3 separate regions of the Homo sapiens genome follow, and all the other regions are linked to region 2. Evidence: promoter capture Hi-C in 16 types of primary human blood cells and fetal thymus (Javierre and others, 2016). All regions are on one chromosome and are shown on one strand. The core of a region is centred on a gene start or on the middle of the fragment in contact, and the rest is flanking DNA. Distances in the headings are between cores, read along the strand shown.

The links. The method cuts DNA at HindIII sites, captures the fragments that hold promoters and counts their contacts. A CHiCAGO score of 5 or more calls a contact.
Region 1: a fragment that was not itself captured here is called in contact with the fragment with the promoter of VEGFC in region 2 in 2 of 17 cell types (megakaryocytes and endothelial precursors); the score reaches 8.0 in megakaryocytes.
Region 3: a fragment that was not itself captured here is called in contact with the fragment with the promoter of VEGFC in region 2 in 1 of 17 cell types (endothelial precursors); the score reaches 6.3 in endothelial precursors.

What each region holds. Positions count from the first base shown.
Region 1 is chr4:177,054,936-177,058,918 of GRCh38, reverse strand. No RefSeq gene overlaps it. Among named protein-coding and RNA genes, the nearest start is that of LINC02509, 180 kb to the right of the region's middle. The HindIII fragment of the contact is 369 bases long and covers 1,477-1,845 here.
Region 2 is chr4:176,790,406-176,794,322 of GRCh38, reverse strand. VEGFC (vascular endothelial growth factor C) reads left to right here and starts at 1,401. Exons shown (of 7, transcript NM_005429.5): 1 at 1,401-2,158. The coding sequence starts at 2,012. The HindIII fragment of the contact is 3,942 bases long and covers 1-2,258 here.
Region 3 is chr4:176,389,524-176,393,972 of GRCh38, reverse strand. It overlaps a transcript of LOC124900817 not described here. Among named protein-coding and RNA genes, the nearest start is that of SPCS3-AS1, 71 kb to the right of the region's middle. The HindIII fragment of the contact is 1,810 bases long and covers 913-2,722 here.

The sequences.
Region 1 (3,983 bases), core at 412-2,911, 260 kb before region 2:
TAGGACTACAGGTACCTGCCACCACGCCCGGCTAATTTTTTGTGTTTTTAGTAGAGATGGGTTTCACCGTGTTAGCCAGGATGGTCTCGATCTCCTGACCTTGTGATCCACCTGCCTTGGCCTCCCAAAGTGCTGGGATTACAGGCATGATGAGCCACTGCGCCTGGCCACGTGTCTGTTTTTATACCAGTACCATGCTGCTCTGGTTACTGTAGGCTTGTAGTATAGTTTGAAGTCAGGTAGTGTGATGCCCCTGGCTTTGTTCCTTTTGCTTAGGATTGTTTTAGCTATTTGGGCTTTTTTTGGTTTCATATGAATTTTAGAATAGTTTTTTCTAATTCTGTGAAAATCAGCATTAGTAGTTGGATGGGAAAACACTAATCTGTAAACTGCTTTGGGAAGTGTGGCCATTTAAACAATATTAATTCTTCCAATCCATGAGCATCGAATGTTGTTCCATTTGTTTGTATCATCTATGTTTCTTTCAGCTATGACAAACCCACCGTCAATATTATACTGAACGAGCAAAAGCTGGGAGCATTCCCCTTAAGACCTGGAACAAGACAAGGATGCTGACAATCACTGCTCCTATTCAACATGGTATTGGAAGTCCTAGCCAAAGCAATCAGGAAAGAAAAAGCAATAAAAGTCTTCCAAACAGGAAAAGAAGAAGTCAAATTATTTCTCTTAAAACTGTTGATATGATTCTATATCTAAAAAACCCTATGGACTCCACCAAAGGGCTTCTGGAGCTGATAAATGATTTCAATAAAGTTTCAGGATTCAAAATCAATGTACAAAAATCAGTAGCATTTTATATACCAATAATGTTCTAGCCGAGAGCCAAATCAGGAGTGCAATCTTTTACAATAGCCATACCAAAAAAAAGAAAAAAACTTTGGAATACATCTAACCAAAAAAGTGAAATATCTACAAGGAGAACTACTAAACACTGCTAAAATAATTTTCTATTAAAAAATAAGTAGATTGTTAAGATACTGGATGTTTAACACCTCTAATTCCAAGAAACTCAAAGCAAAAAAAAAAAATCATTCAGAAAATAATCTGCTAATATCTCCATGAGGAAGTAAGATACATAACCTATGCATAAGCTCAATAAGTTAAAGGTTAGTTTTAAAATATATCAAAATCTGTATTAATACTGTAGAGATTGCTTCACTTAGCTACTAACTCATTTGTTCCTTTGTTTTAAATGTGTGATAGAAAAGTTTTGGGATGTCTCTGGAATTTTGATTGTATTTCCTATGCCAAAAAGTCAACTTTCAGGGCATTAATGAATAGCTCATGCGTAAGTCTTAATTGTTATAATAAAAACATTTTTCTTCCCTTTAGGTTTTATCCAAGGTCTTGTATGTTTTATGGTTATAAGCAAAAACAGATTGGCAGAGGTCAGTTTCCCTGCCAACCTTAAAGATAGATGCAAATTGCTTGAGGAGCATTATTTTAAGCCAAGCTTGGCTTGTTTAATCAAGTTCATAGTAAAGAGATGGTAACTAGCTGGAAAACAGCCAACACACGAGTCAAATTAAATTATTCATGTTGTCCCTTCCACACTGCTTTTATAATTAGAGTAGCAGCATGACACTGAGGGAAATGCATGAGCTTTGAATTTAGAAATGTAGGCGCTTGAAAGTATGCAAATAAGCCTTTATGAGCCTCAATGTTTTCAACTGTAAAATGGGGAGATGTGTACCTTTTTTGTGGCTTGTTTTAAATGGATGAAATGAGATAATGTACTTATAGTGCTTGGCATTAAATATGCTTGAAAATTAGTAGTGAACATTATTACCTTTTAATCTAGACCATTCAAGATAAAGCAAAGCTTGGTGTTTGATTGTATATCTCTGCCTGTCCTTATAATCCTGGTGGTTAAGCATCTTCATAAAATACTGTCTCTAAAATGTAAGCAATAAAATTTGGATTTATTTTATGTAGGATTCTTTAAGGTAGTCAAGCATGAAAGTGAAAAGTTCTTCGATGGCCTTTTTCCATTTAATTCCTCAGATGTAGAAAACCAAAAAGATTCACAACTATATTATGTTAATGATCATAGTTCCAAAATGTCCTAGAACTACAATAAATAACCTATGATGTCCATAATCATTTTGTGACTCACTGTTCATAACCAAAGGACTTCCCTGACATTTATATACTCTGTTAAACCACCCATATCTGTGCCAAAAAAAAAAAAAAAAAAGACACTCACAAGCATGTCTTAAACTAATCAGAGCAAGGCCATTCAAGCTTATTGCCCAAAGCCTGTCAGAAGACTCAGCACAGGCTGTTATTCAATTATGGAGAAACTAGCTTATTACTCTGCATTAATTAAGTGTAAAATTATGAATTGTGTCTCTCTATATATCTTGACACTGCAAAGTGATGCTAGTGGAATAATTATTTTTATATCCTTTAATAACTTAATATATATATTTAAGGGTGGCATAAATGTCTCTTGACTATGTTTTCTTCTGATAGACATCAGCATGTAACTATATTCAGCAGCTGATGAACTACAGTCACCTGACTCTTGAACCCAATCGGGCTTGCACTGTAAGCATCCACAAAGGGAAATGTTCCTTAGACTCCAGGAAGGCTGGGGAGTCCATAACCTGCTTCAAGGTCTTTTCTTAAGGAGAGAGGAGAGGAGGTTGTGCATCAGAGGCATTGGAAGGAAGCAGAATCACATTCCTGTGAGACAGTTTTAGAATGTTAGCCTTGCAGTTCTTAAAATCATGTGGTACTTTGCATTATTAAAATACAAATAACCCTGAGAGGGCTAACACTTTAATCCATTATCAGACCACAAATGGAGGCAGCATTTAAGCAGCAGGCTGAGCAGAAATGTGCATTGGCAGAAAAGGAAGAGTAGGGCAAAATTGTTCCTACTTTACTTCTCAAGTTTGTCTCAGCTCAATTCTGACCCAACTCTACCCCTATAAAACAATAAAAAAGGAAAGATTCTGGTTGACAAATGATGACTGTATGGCCTCCCTCACCCTCCCTGACCCCCACCCCAGGACACTTAAGATGATTGAAAATAATGCCAACATTATGCTATTATCAGAACAATGATTAGATTTTAAATATATCTTGCGTCATTGGAAAATTAATTACAGTCACTAACACATTAGTATATTATCCAAAGCTTGATTTGAATTCTATCCTGCTAAAGTACTTGGGATAAATCTTCACCATTTGATGATCACAACATACCTCTTATGGTGTGTCTCTAGAAAACTGAGAAACATTTTAAACTAAAAATAATGGAGTTCACCTCCATCAGATAATGGCAAGTTAAAATTAAAAGTTAACATCAGAGTATAAATATGTGACTATTAATATTATTGAAACATAAAACAAATGCCAGTTTAAGGGACAGAATATAGTGACGATGATGACAGAGGGCTGCTACTTACCGCAGAAGGAAGGAGTTATGCCTGGGGAAGTTGTCTGAGGTTATGGGGTGAAACTGAAGAGGTTTTCATATGCAGCATGTTTCCCTGAAATGAGGAGAGAATTACTATTGCTATAAACCAGTTTAGCAACACTTTATAAAATAGAATCTGGGTCTTCAGTTAGCATCATGGTCATAATAGAACTTCTAAATTATTAACTAAATTTACAGGCATTTTGGAATATTCATATACATAAGGGAAACCTTGAAAATTTCCCTTAATGATGTCTCTGAGATGTGCAGGGAAAGGAGGAAGCTGAGTTAGTGTAAGGCTCTCTGGACAAACCCACCGCCCAATTAGGAACTACTAAACTTTAGTGTCTACTAAATAAAACACTGGTTTCCAAATAGTAAGACAAGCCCAGTTACCTGCTAAGAATCTTGTAAAAAACTTGTCCATAAAAAAATTCTTATTTATCAGGTTAAATGAGAAACCCGGTAATTTATTTCTTTAAAAAGTTTTCAGGATATTCTAATACACTCAGAAATTGGAACTACAAAACTGGTC
Region 2 (3,917 bases), core at 152-2,651:
CAAAGGCATACTGTCCATTCTGCATGCTCATTACAGCACTAAGTACCGAGCCATGTTCTCAACCGCATACTTCATGAACATGGAAAGCTAACAGTATGGTTAAGGGGGGAAACTGGAACTGTCATCTTGGGGAATAAAAGGGATATTTAGCCAGGAGTAAAGTTAGCTTAGGGAGACCATGATAAATATTTTCAAAATATTTGAAGGACTCAGTTGTGGAAGTGAGATTAGATTTATTGTGTAAAACTCCAGGAGTCAAAAGCAATAGAGAGATAGAAGGAAATGCTTTTCAGCAGTGTTGCTCATCAATAAAGGGAGTGAACAGCCACACAGAATGGAAGGTTCCCTGTCCTTTGAGATATTTAAGCCTTCAAGTAAATTATGGGTGAGGAGTTTCAAATCTAGAGTTGAACCAGATAAGAAAGTCTCTTCTTCCGGTAAGATATTATGGACCTATAACATCTGTGTACTTAAAAGTAGATTGGGAGTGAAAGGCAGACTTTTGATGTTCTGTACACTGTTGAAACCCCTTAGCGTGGTCCTCTGTAACCTGCTCACCCTGCCCCAAGGAGGCAGCTAGCCAATGCCACCAGCCCAACGGAAACCCCAGTGCTTTTCCAATGGGGAAATGCAGTCACTTTTCTTTGGATGCTACACATCCTTTCTGGAATATGTCTCACACACATCTCTCTTTATCACCCCCTTTTTCAAGTAAACCAACTTCTTGCAGAAGCTGACAATGTGTCTCTTTACTCTCCACGAAGATTCTGGCCCTTCTCTTCACCTGTCAGAAGTTTAGGATTCCAAAGGGATCATTAGCATCCATCCCAACAGCCTGCACTGCATCCTGAGAACTGCGGTTCTTGGATCATCAGGCAACTTTCAACTACACAGACCAAGGGAGAGAGGGGACCCCTCCGAGGTCCCATAGGGTTCTCTGACATAGTGATGACCTTTTCTTGGAACTTTTACAACCCCCAGGACATTTCCAAACTTTGAGCAGGGCTCTGGGGGCCAGGCGTGCGGGAGGGAGGACAAGAACTCGGGAGTGGCCGAGGATAAAGCGGGGGCTCCCTCCACCCCACGGTGCCCAGTTTCTCCCCGCTGCACGTGGTCCAGGGTGGTCGCATCACCTCTAAAGCCGGTCCCGCCAACCGCCAGCCCCGGGACTGAACTTGCCCCTCCGGCCGCCCGCTCCCCGCAGGGGACAGGGGCGGGGAGGGAGAGATCCAGAGGGGGGCCGGGGGAGGTGGGGCCGCCGGGGAGGAGGCGAGGGAAACGGGGAGCTCCAGGGAGACGGCTTCCGAGGGAGAGTGAGAGGGGAGGGCAGCCCGGGCTCGGCACGCTCCCTCCCTCGGCCGCTTTCTCTCACATAAGCGCAGGCAGAGGGCGCGTCAGTCATGCCCTGCCCCTGCGCCCGCCGCCGCCGCCGCCGCCGCTCAGCCCGGCGCGCTCTGGAGGATCCTGCGCCGCGGCGCTCCCGGGCCCCGCCGCCGCCAGCCGCCCCGCCGCCCTCCTCCCGCCCCCGGCACCGCCGCCAGCGCCCCCGCCGCAGCGCCCGCGGCCCGGCTCCTCTCACTTCGGGGAAGGGGAGGGAGGAGGGGGACGAGGGCTCTGGCGGGTTTGGAGGGGCTGAACATCGCGGGGTGTTCTGGTGTCCCCCGCCCCGCCTCTCCAAAAAGCTACACCGACGCGGACCGCGGCGGCGTCCTCCCTCGCCCTCGCTTCACCTCGCGGGCTCCGAATGCGGGGAGCTCGGATGTCCGGTTTCCTGTGAGGCTTTTACCTGACACCCGCCGCCTTTCCCCGGCACTGGCTGGGAGGGCGCCCTGCAAAGTTGGGAACGCGGAGCCCCGGACCCGCTCCCGCCGCCTCCGGCTCGCCCAGGGGGGGTCGCCGGGAGGAGCCCGGGGGAGAGGGACCAGGAGGGGCCCGCGGCCTCGCAGGGGCGCCCGCGCCCCCACCCCTGCCCCCGCCAGCGGACCGGTCCCCCACCCCCGGTCCTTCCACCATGCACTTGCTGGGCTTCTTCTCTGTGGCGTGTTCTCTGCTCGCCGCTGCGCTGCTCCCGGGTCCTCGCGAGGCGCCCGCCGCCGCCGCCGCCTTCGAGTCCGGACTCGACCTCTCGGACGCGGAGCCCGACGCGGGCGAGGCCACGGTAGGTCTGCGTTAGGGTTTGCGGAGAACCCGAGAGTTTGCGTTAGGGTCTGCGGCGGACCCGAGAACCTGCGCGGGGGAAAGTGTGTGTGCTTTAAGCTTGTGTACGTGGGATCCAAAGTTACTGAGCTCAGTGCACGCTGCTTTGGAGAAAAATCTTCTTCTTTTTAAATAGAAAGTTGTTACTAGAGAGGCAAGCAAGTTACACGAGTGAAGGGCCCGGAGAGGTGCCCAGTGAGAGATCCCGAAATCTATTTCAGACTGGTTTCCTCTGGGGCAACCAAGGGGTCTTGAACCCTGCCCAGTCAGCGGGGCTCTGGAGAGTATGAGTTCATTTTGGTCGGGAAATGCTCGTTTCTTTCCCCAGCTGATTCATGGGACTCCAAACAGATTCTGGGACACTGGTGATCAGTCAACCCAGCCTTACTTTCCTGGAGTGTTCATAGTCTGCAGAGCACCAGGCGCTGTGAGCGACTTTAGAAAAAAAGTGTCAGGGACTTTAGTAACCAGGCTCCAGAGCTTTCAGAGTTCACTTGAAGTTGGTCAGACTTGAGATGTAACGGGAGATTAGAGTCAGTTAGATCACAATCAAGCAATGCAAGGCTTGTTTCAACTTTATAAGCTCTTCATTCCTAAAATCTGGTCATGAGATACTGCAAACTAAGTTTTTTTTTTTCTTGTTTGGGTTTTTTGTTTGTTTTGTTTTCTTTTAAATAAGAGGTGTTTAATCCTTTGCCTGAAAATGTTGCCAAAATACTTTTGAGGCATCCTGATTTTGAAAAAGGATTTGTGTGTGTTCCTACTTCTTACTGGCTCTTCCAAAAGAGTATATCTTTATCTAAAAAGTTCATACCTGCCATAACCATATAGAGTATGCTTAAGAGAGTTCCTAAAGAAGTTATATTCGACATTTCAGTTCAAACACTTGCAGTACCCCTTGCTGGAACTATACTGCGGTAGTTTATTTCAACTGGTGGCAAGTGGAGAGGTACCTGTGGTGTGTTACAGTCAACTTTAATTTGACTGTTGATTAACACATACACAATGTGTAGAAAATAGCCTTATATTTTGAAATATTTTATTTATATTTATATTTTGAAATACACTTAAAGATTGAGAAGACTAATTTTTGGAAATCAAACTACCTTTGCATTTAAATTTTGGGAAAACATTAAAATGTTGGAATGTGTAATAATTTAATATAGGGGTTAAAGGAATGCCTCTTGAGTAAAAACAATATACATGAAATAGAACAGACTGCATTCTGTGAATCACAAAAATAATTTTCAGTGCCTATACTTACATTGCCGTAACTATAGTGATGAAAATATCTTTCTGTTCTTAAATACCGCAGAAATGTAATAATCGGCTCAATAACGCTTCTGATAATTTGAGTCCTTGATTTTGCAGTACCTATTTGCTATTTCTGCAAAGTCAAAACTAGTAAAAGTATGATTTAGTAAGGCAACATCTCTGTATTGGTTACGGTCACTTACTTTGGTTTACAGTAAGAAAATGTGCAGTAGAGAGTAAAATGAGAAACATTCCCTGATAAGCCAATAGCCTGTATGAGAGTCACTCACTGCTGGGTGAGTCTAGAATTAATGTACCTTGAGTGTGTGTGTGTGTGTGTTTACGTGTGTTATGTATAGGTATGGGATTGGAGGATTAAAAAAGTTAACTTATTTTTAACTTTCAAAAGTGTCTTCGTTGGTGATGTAAAATTTGCCATTGGTGATATGGCAAATTTTACCATTGCT
Region 3 (4,449 bases), core at 568-3,067, 400 kb after region 2:
TAGTAATGGTTATTGCCATGTAGATAGGATTATGCCCTCTTTTAATAGTGCTGTCCTTTCACCACAGCATACCAGGGTGTGGGGTGGTGCTCACCAAACATAGGCAGCAGGGACCTGCCTGGGCTTCTAGGCTGCTGTGGGGCCCTGACAATGGCTGGTGCTTGTGGTGGAGGCGGGAAGATCCTAGTTGTCACTCTATTCTGTACAGTCCCTCCTGGTTCACTAGGCTCGTTTCAAAGCCCGCTGACAATCCTTTCATTACATTCCTTCCTGCTCTCGTCCTCTCAGATTTAGAGGATTCTTTCTAGTCTGGGATGGGAGGAGATGTTTTGTGAATTTTACTGTTATTTATTAGAATTCTCCCACATCTGTTATTTCAGCCCCTGAGAGCCAGACTTCTGAAGTATAAAAGTCAGTAATTTAATCCTGTTGTTTATACTTTCACTGTACTCAATGTATTCAATGGGGAAGGGCTAAATGGAGAAATAAAATACTGTAAACAAAGAAATACATTGGTTAACACTGCAGCTACCTTTCCTAACCACACTATTTTAAGTCACCTCCCCAATTGGATGTCACAGGCTACAGCTTTGAATATAGTATTTCACAGCTTGTTGAATTCAGAACTTTTGTTTCATAACACTTACAGTATTTTAACTGTTTGTAGAACTTTACCACTTTGCAATCTGTTTGGTTTACAAAGGCATCGTAGTTGGAAGTCTCTCAATGATGAAAATGGTATTTTTATAGAATTAAGACTCTCTGAAGCACAGGATGAAAATAATTTCTGATTCTCATAATCCAGTTCAACAAATTTAGGTAAATACTCAGCATTCATCAATTACATCTTCCTTTATGATATCATTTAGGAAGTGTTAAAACCTTTTAAAATCTTCTATAGTTGCCTAAGCTTAACAGCTGAATTTCCTTGTCTTTGAGGTGTGCTCTAATATATGCAGATGCCAAGGAGTTTTCAAAAATTTGAGAGGCTTAATCTTTATTGAACAAGGAACAAATTTTACTTTACAAATTATAATTCTATTGTATCTACTTTTCCTGATATGTACTTTCCTTAACACTATAATCTATCAGACACCCACAAACAGCTCTCTGTACCTTTCTCTACCTGGGCTTAGGACTTGGCCTCAATGTGACATTATAACTGATCTTGTATGACAAAAGTCTCCATAAGTTAAAGGGCAAATGATGGACTGGAAGAAAATATTTGCAATGTATGTAACTGCTAAAAATTAAATTTAGAATATGTAAAGAAATGGTACAAATAAAACAAAAAAAGATAAACATAAGAGGGCAAAGTATGTAAATGGGCAATTCACAGAAGAGGACATATTCTAAAGTTGGGAAAGTGAAAATTAACCAATAATAAAATTGAATGCTCTTTTATATATCATAGTGACACATTTTCAGATACAATAAAATCTAGTATCTACTAGGGTGTGGGGAAACTAGTATTAACTTACAATGCTGGCAGGAACATAATTTGGTACACTCAATTGAAGGTGGCTTGACAATATCTATTAAAATCTTAAATGAACATCTTCTGTGCCCCTGAAATTCTTATTTCTGAAGTGTACCAACACTGAAATATGTCAAAGACTGTTAGCAGGTTTTCTTTCTTTTTTTTTTTTTTTTTTTTTTGTTGTTGAGACGGAGTCTCGCTCTGTCGCCCAGGCTGGAGTGCAGGGGCGCCATCTCGGCTCACTGCAAGCTCCGCCTCCCGGGTTCACTCCATTCTCAGCAGGTTTTCTTAAAGCAAGTTGCAGCAGAAGAATAAACACGTGTATCGCATAAAAAGTGACAAAAACGATAAATGTCCAACTAATAACCATTGTTAGCTGTGTGAAGGATTACAGATAGTTAAGGAGGCCTTTGGATATATCTATATTTTTTTTCTAATTTTTTTAACAGTGAGAATGTATTCATGTGATAGTTGTAAAGTTGAACTTAAAATTCATAATTGAGAACCCAGAAGGGCTTCATAAAAAATAGAGATATTTCCTCTTACTTATTACTTCTTTGTAAAGTATCCTGAAACCTGAAGAAGGAACCCCCTGATGGTGTCTTTCAATAACAGAAATATTTCTTACTGAGAAGTGTTTTAAAAACTGCCCAGCAAGGGCCCCTTCAGTTAAACTTGTATTGCTTAGGCGGGGTCTGTCTCAGCATCAGTGGTTTCTTAAGCTCTCTGGGTAATTTAGACATGCAGCTAGGGTTGAGATCTACAGTCCCACAGGACCCAGCCTCTGCCTATCTTTCCCACCCCTCTTCTTGGCAGCATGGATCTTCTTCCTCTCTTCCAATACATCAAACTTGTTTCCTCCTCAGGGCTTTTGATTTTTCTGTTCTCATTTGTCTGGAATATTCTCTTTCCAGGTCTCCTCATAGCTCACTTCCCCTCTTCACTAAAGGTCTTTAATCAACGTGATCTCATTGGAGAAAACTTTTTTGACCTTCCTATTTAAAATACCTCCCTTCTTCTTGTCCCATCCCCGACCCTACATCATAGCTTTGTGTCCTATTACCATGCTCAATTCTACAGGAAATCTTGTTAGATTATAGGTAATATTTTACATCGAGTTCACTACTTGCCAGATTTGCATGATCAAGGTTCTTTTCTCATTAACTATTATATCCTCAGTAGGAATCTGATAAATATTTGTTGAATGAATGAATATAAAGCAGTAGGACTGTTAGATAAGCTTTCAGAGAATGTGTCAAAGAAGGTGAGAGAGTGGAACTGAGTCTCAAAAAAACTCACTCACTGTTTGGTGGGAGAGGGAGTGGCTGGAAAAGGGCAAGATGCAGGGAGAGAAATATTGCAGAAGAGAAAGGAAGACATAGTGTACACAGGCAAGGAGGCCCTTTGGCACTTTCAACAGCAGGTAGACTATGTGTAGCTGAGATTCAATGGGAAGGTGGAGCTATGGAAATGAATCTTTGCAGGTAGGCAAGTCCCAATCCTGATGGGCATTACGTAACGAAGAACAAGTTGAATTGTATCCAACAGGCAATAGAAATCTAATAAAGGATTATAAGGAGCAGAGTGACATGATGATATTTATCCCCATTAATGCCATCTTAGAATTGACAGCATACGTACTATAGTAATATAGTGTTGGGACTCCGGAGTGAGACCAACCTATGTACAAATTCCAGAATTTACTACTCATAATTTTGGGCAAGTCACTTCACTTTTAAGAAATAGAGTCCTCATCTTAATAATATGGATAATAATGTTTCTGAAGAAGATTTAATAAAATACTGAATGCAAAGAGCTAGCACAAAATCAAGTACATAGTATCTCGGCAATGTTAGCTCTTTGCTTTGGTATGAGACCTCATGGTAGCAAAGGCTAATGTGTTCTGTGTTTCTCCAGCAAAATTTCTCCCAACTGAAATGATGTATAGGTTGATTCTTCACCCAGCCACTTCCCTGTGGTTACAGCCTTCCTCCACTTTACCCCTCATCATTTTCTTTTTCCCTTATTGCTGGGTCTTGAGTCACTCACCAACCAATGTAAAAAATTATGGCTTTCATTGAAAGCCAATCCAATTCTTCCTTAAGCCACTTCTACCTGACCTGCTTCTATTTTTTAGCCATTTCTTCTCTACTTTCCTAACCCTGTTAAACTATCAAGGAAAAATCCTTCACTTTCTTCATTTTCTTTTTTTTTTTTTTTTTTTAAGACAGGGTCTCACTCTGCCCCCAGGCTGGAGTGCAGTGGGGCAATCTTGGCTCACTGCAACCTCCACCTCCCGAGTTGAACCGATTACTCTGCCTCAGTTTCCCAAGTAGCTGGGATTACAGACACCAGCCACCACACCTGGCTAATTTTTTGTATTTTTAGTAGAGACGCAGTTTCATCATGTTGGCCAGGCTGGTCTCAAACTCCTGACCTCAGGTGATCTGCCTGCCTCGGCCTCCCAAAGTGCTGGGATTACAGGCATGAGCCACCATGCCCGGCCAAATCTTTCATTTTCCAAACTTTCATCTATTAAAACACATACCCAGCCAGGAGCAGTGGCTCACGCTTGCAATCCCAGCACTTTGGGAGGCCGAGGTGGACAGATCATGAGGTCAGGAGTTTGAGACCATCCTGGCCAATATGGTGAAACCTCATCTCTACTAAAAATACAAAAATTAGCTGGGTGTGGTGGTGCGGGCCTGTAGTCCCAAGTACCAGGGAGGCTGAGGCAGGAGAATTGCTTGAACCCGGGAGGCGGAGGTGGCAGTGAGCCAAGATTGCACCACTGCACTCCAGCCTGGGCGACAGAGTGAGACTCAGTCTCAAAAAAAAAAAAAAGCAGACATACCCTTTACCAATTCAGTTGTGTAAAACACAGCTTTTCCCTATTGACCCTTCTCTCCTTTCCAAATTCTCTCAGAAAGAAGTTACAAATTCACCCACATCCTCCAAACTCTCAGTGC